Regions from separate parts of the Homo sapiens genome. Here region 2 is linked to region 1. The links are contacts of gene promoters, found by promoter capture Hi-C in human tissues and cell types (Jung and others, 2019). All regions are on one chromosome and are shown on one strand. The core of a region is centred on a gene start or on the middle of the fragment in contact, and the rest is flanking DNA. Distances in the headings are between cores, read along the strand shown.

What was found. Contacts are between HindIII fragments. The study calls those that stand out against the background at their distance.
Region 2: a fragment that was not itself captured here is called in contact with the fragment with the promoter of KRTAP10-1 in region 1 in 2 of the 25 tissues and cell types used here (lymphoblastoid cells and mesendoderm cells).

The regions. Positions count from the first base shown.
Region 1 is chr21:44,538,734-44,541,524 of GRCh38, reverse strand. It overlaps KRTAP10-1 (keratin associated protein 10-1), which reads left to right and starts at 1,330. Exons shown (of 1, transcript NM_198691.3): 1 at 1,330-2,544. The coding sequence starts at 1,375. The coding sequence ends at 2,223. The region is part of intron 2 of TSPEAR (thrombospondin type laminin G domain and EAR repeats); the gene reads left to right. RefSeq lists an enhancer at 1,928-2,592. The HindIII fragment of the contact is 21,448 bases long and covers 1-2,791 here.
Region 2 is chr21:44,500,645-44,503,435 of GRCh38, reverse strand. The region is part of intron 11 of TSPEAR (thrombospondin type laminin G domain and EAR repeats); the gene reads left to right. Among named protein-coding and RNA genes, the nearest start is that of TSPEAR-AS1, 4.0 kb to the left of the region's middle. RefSeq lists an enhancer at 1-274. The HindIII fragment of the contact is 6,330 bases long and covers 1-2,791 here.

The DNA of each region.
Region 1 (2,791 bases), core at 81-2,580:
GTGCAGTTTCTCTCTAATGCGGATTCACTCACTCAAGTCTCAGCTGTCTTGATACCTCCCGGCCCCTTCGAACAGAGATTTTGTTTGTAAACCAGATTTCCTAATATTTCTCAGCTAGATGGCCAGTCTGATGTAAGCCAGTTCCCCACACACGAAAGGAGAACTTGACAGAGCATTTTATACAGCATAAGAAAAAGGTGGCACAATGGAATCGCGTTCAGAGCTCAAAATTACTCTTCAATAATTTCTCCAAAAAAGTTTATTATTTCAGCCCATTTTTATAAAGGCTTTTCCTTGGGCCAGGCATGATTTTAGGCCTTTGAAGACTGAGTGGTGAACAAGACAAACACACTCCCTGCTCACATGCAGCTTACGTTTGAAGAAAGGAAGCTGAGGACAGCAAGGACAATGAACAGGAACAGGGAAGACACGTGGTGCAGAAATACTGATGATGGCCAGGCACCGGGCTCACGCCTGCAATCCCAGTACTTTGGCCAAGGCAGGAGGGATCACTTGAGACGCCATCTGTACAAAAAAAAAAAAAAATAAATTTAAGAATATTGATAACGGGACTTGAGTTATCTATGGTTGAAGCACATCATAAAGCTATGGCCTTTAAGAGCAGAACCAAATCCATGGGCCAGTTCAAAACTTTTCTTTCCTGTCCGAAACCCAGTCCTATCCCCAGCGTTCCCACACCAACGTCTGAGTGGACCTCGGGGAAGGCCGTGGGGAGGGGCATGGCCTCTCCTTCCTTGCTCCCCTTCTCCCTGTTTGGGGCTCTAATTTCTTCAGTGATGGGGATGGGGGAAGGAATGTGCAGGGCCACCACTGTGGGGTTCGCTGGCCACTGCTGCACCTTCTCTCCGGCTGCTCCAGTGATCCTGTGCTTCTACCAGCTGCTTCTGCCTCTTCAGTGAGGACCCGCTTTAGGGAGGAGACGCCCCCACGATCGTGAGTGGGACAGCTCTCACCCTGGCATGCCACACTTTGCATAAGGCTGAAGGGCCACCCCTGCCTCCGCAGCCCCCTTCTTACAACCCGGACTGCACTGGTGGCGTGCTGGGACCAGGTCCACCTCCACTCTTGCCCCCAGGGATCCACATGGGACAGGCTACAGCCCAGACAGGACAGGAGATTTATGACCTGGGCCACATCACAGGCAAACAAACATCCCTAGTCATGACACACGCCACCTCTCAGCAACCAGGAAGGGGACGCTGTGGGCCCTGGAACAACAAGGCCAGAAGGGGTATAAAAGCAGAGCCCCACGAAGCTCACACACTCACTCACACACTCAGTCACTCACACACACACTGACTCCCACACTCACTCACTCACACCTCCCGCAGCTCACCTCCTCCCCACCCCAGCATGGCCGCGTCCACCATGTCCGTCTGCTCCAGCGCTTGCTCCGACTCCTGGCAGGTGGATGCCTGCCCAGAGAGCTGCTGTGAGCCCCACTGCTGCGCCCTCAGCTGCTGCGCCCCGGCCCCCTGCCTGACCCTGGTCTGCACCCCAGTGAGCCGTGTGTCCAGCCCCTGCTGCCAGGCAGCCTGTGAGCCCAGCCCCTGCCAATCAGGCTGCACCAGCTCCTGCACGCCCTCGTGCTGCCAGCAGTCTAGCTGCCAGCCGGCTTGCTGCACCTCCTCCCCCTGCCAGCAGGCCTGCTGCGTGCCCGTCTGCTGCAAGCCTGTGTGCTGCCTGCCCACCTGCTCTAAGGATTCCTCTTCATGCTGCCAGCAGTCTAGCTGCCAGCCAACTTGCTGTGCCTCTTCCTCCAGCCAGCAGTCCTGCTGTGTGCCTGTTTGCTGCAAGCCTGTGTGCTATGTGCCCACCTGCTCTGAGGATTCCTCTTCATGCTGCCAGCAGTCTAGCTGCCATCCAGCTTGCTGCACCTCCTCCCCCTGCCAGCAGGCCTGCTGCGTGCCCGTCCGTTGCAAGCCTGTCTGCTGCAAGCCCATCTGCTGTGTGCCCGTCTGCTCTGGGGCTTCCACTTCATGCTGCCAGCAGTCTAGCTGCCAGCCGGCTTGCTGCACCACCTCCTGCTGCAGACCCTCCTCCTCCGTGTCCCTCCTCTGCCGCCCTGTATGCCGGCCCGCCTGCTGTATGCCTGTCTCCTCCTGCTGTGCCCCTGCCTCCTCCTGCCAGGCCAGCTGCTGCCGCCCGGCCTCCTGCGTGTCCCTCCTCTGCCGCCCCGCGTGCTCCCGCCCGGCCTGCTGAGGCCTCTGCTCAGGCCAGGAGTCCAGCTGCTGATGGGCACCCGCCCTGGGCCAGCTGGGCTCAGTTCCTGACCTGGGTTAGGTGGCTTCCCCCACCTAGGACGGGTCCCCGTGTCTCCCCTGTGCTGAGGTGACCCCCCCTCCTTGCTCCCAGGAGCCTCCATCCTTGCAGCTCCCCAGCTCTTGCCTTCCAGCAGGTGCCCACCTGCCTGCTAGGTCCCCTGTCCTCCCTCCCAGCTTCTCTGCTCTGGGTCACTTGGCCTCGACTTGAACCTCTCAGCACCTCCTCCTGCTCCCCAATAAACTCTCCTTGGTCACCTGATTCTCTTTTCTGTTGTGTTCCTGGGGGACACATGGTTTTGAGCTGACATTGGTCTCCTCCAGCCATGATTATTTTTAGGAATGAGTGACTTAACCTAGAAGTCACAGGGGACAGTGGCCTAACTCCTCCAGGGGGTCACCAGGTGGGACTCACGGTCACTCCCAGGAAGGCTCAGTCCCAGCTCAGCCCCTGTGCCCGGGTCTTCCTGAGCCTGGTCATTCGCTGTCATGCCCTGGGCTGTGGGGCT
Region 2 (2,791 bases), core at 109-2,608, 38 kb after region 1:
CCCCCCGAGGGCTCACCAACTCCGGCCTCCTCCCAGAGCCTTGCTTCCCGCCGAGGGCTCACCGAGGCCGGCTTCCTCCCAGAGCCTTGCTTCCCCCCGAGGGCTCACCAAGGCCGGCCTCCTCCCAGAGCCTTGCTTCCCCCCGAGGGCTCACCGAGGCCAGCTTCCTCCCAGCACACTGCTTCCCCCCGTGGGCTCACCAAGGCCGGCCTCCTCCCAGCGCCTTGCTTCCCCCCTGTGGGCTCACCAAGGCCGGCTTCCACCCAAGGGCTCACCGAGGCCGGCCTCCTCCCAGAGCCTTGCTTCCCCCCGAGGACTCACCGAGGCCGGCCTCCTCCCAGAGTCTTGCTTCCCCCTGAGGGCTCACCGAGGCCAGCTTCCTCCCAGAGCCTTGCTTCCCCCCGAGGGCTCACCGAGGCCGGCTTCCTCCCAGCACCTTGCTTCCCCACTGTGGGCTCACCGAGGCCAGCTTCCTCCCAGAGCCTTGCTTCCCCGAGGGCTCACTGAGGCCAGCTTCCTCCCAGCGCCTTACTTCCCCGAGGGCTCACCGAGGCCGGCCTCCTCCCAGAGCCTTGCTTCCCCCCAAGGGCTCACCGAGGCCGGCCTCCTCCCAGAGCCTTGCTTCCCCCCGGGGGCTCACCTTCTCTCGCAGGTGCCACCGGCTCACAGCGAGTCCCAAGTCAGGTGTCATTTCCGAGATTGGCTGGGCCCAGTGGATGGCCCGGCGCTGGCTGCACCCGTGTGGGATCTGAGCTGGGGCCCTGCCCCGGGTGTAGCCACAACCCACGAGTGCTGGTGCTTCTGCCTTTGGATTCTGTCAGGGATGCGGCGTGTGGACATCCTAACATGGGAGTTGTTGATATTTAATTTTTCTCTCATAGACACTGTGGTGTTCTCATTTATTTCCAGGAGTTTTCCAAGTATCGTACGTTTAACGAATGGGGTTGGCTTTTTAACTTTCATTTGCAGCTGCTCATCATGACAATCATTTTCTCGCCCCCTAACCAATCAGTTCTAATAGCTTTTCTTAAAAAGATTCTCAGGGGACTTAGGAATGTAATTACCTCTGAGAATAAAGAACATTTCCCCTTGATTTCTAGTGTTCTAATTGATTATGTAGCTTGCTTCCCTAGCTAAAGATTCCAGAACAATCTTGGATGGCGGCAGAAGTGGCAGCTGTCCCACCTTGCTCTAATTTAACGAGCACATCTGAGCATGGCCGTTTGATGGGCTGTGGGCCATCCGGGCCAGGGCTGAGGTCTCCTTTGGCATCTGTGAGTGCGTGGTGCGGTCCACTATGTTTACTGTTGATGTCATGATTTATAGTGAGACATCTCCTCGCGTTATTAGACCCGATGCCACTTGGTGATGATGCAGAATTATTGAATAAGCCACTGGCTTCCAATTGCCTGTCTTTAAGCTTTTAGCATCTATAATAGGAAATTAGATTGCTCGGTGGTTTTCTTTTGGGGACTTAACTTTATCCAGTTTAAAATGAAGCCTAACAGTAAATACACACTGCAGGGCTTTCTAACTGCACCTGTGGACTGGGATAGTCTGAAGAATAGGATTTTTTCTCTCATTTCTGACAGCTGGGTTAAATTCAGTTATAAAGCCATCTGGGCCTGGGTACCTTTTTAATAATATCTCCTTCTTATTTATTTTTTGGGGGGGACAGGGTCTCACTCTGTAGCCCAGGCTGAAGTGCAGTGGCATAACCTCAGCTCATTGCAGGCTGAAATTCCCAGGCTCAAGCAATCCTCCCACCTCAGCCTCCCTAGTCGCTGGGACCACAGGCATGGGCCAACCATGCCTGGCTAATTTTATTTTTTCTTTTTGGAGATGGAGTCTCGCTTTGTCGCCCAAGCTGGAGTGCAGTGGCCCAGTCTCGGCACACTGCAAGCTCCGCCTCCTGGGTTCACGCCATTCTCTTGCTTCAGCCTCCTGAGTAGCTGGGACTACAGGCACCTGCCACCACACCTGGCTAATTGTTTTGTATTTTTTAGTAGAGATGGGGTTTCACTGTGTTAGCCAGGATGGTCTCGATCTCCTGACCTTGTGATCTGCCCGCCTCGGCCTCCCAAAGTGCTGGGATTACAGGCATGAGCCACTGCGCCTAGCCCATGCCTGGCTAATTTTTGTATTTTTAATAGAGATGGGGTTTCACTATGTTGGCCAGGCTGTTCTCGAACTCCTGACCTCAAGTGATCTGCCCGCCTCAGCCTCCCAAAGTGCTGAGATTATAGGCGTAAGCCACCCCGCCCGGCCATAAATGCTATATTTGAAGGCAATGAGAAAAGGATGGGTTTTACTTGATAACTCCATATGATTCGGGAGATTAGCTTCATGTAATCTGGAAGAAAACAAAGCTTACCCCCACTTCACATTGTACACAAAAATAAATGTTATATGGATTAAAAGTCCAAATGTGAAAAAGAAGAAAAGCTGAAGGCAGTTGTATAACCTCAGGGTTCTATGAAGAAGACAAGCCCAGAAGGAAAGGCACTGGGTCGACCACCTGTGTTAAAAGCTTTCTATGGAAACAGACATCCTATTCAAAAGCAAAAGACAAACTCTTTACCACACACACGACAGAAAACCAACCCTTACAAACTAATAAAAAATGTGTCTTTAAATTTGGAAAAATGGACAAAAGATATAAATATGAATTTTTAGAAGAAAAGATGAACAGTGTGAATAAACATTATAAGGGATTTGTCCTCAAAGCAAAACCCTGCCAGGTTCTCCCCCATTTGTTTGGAAGTGTGTTAAAGATGGGCAGTGGAGTGGG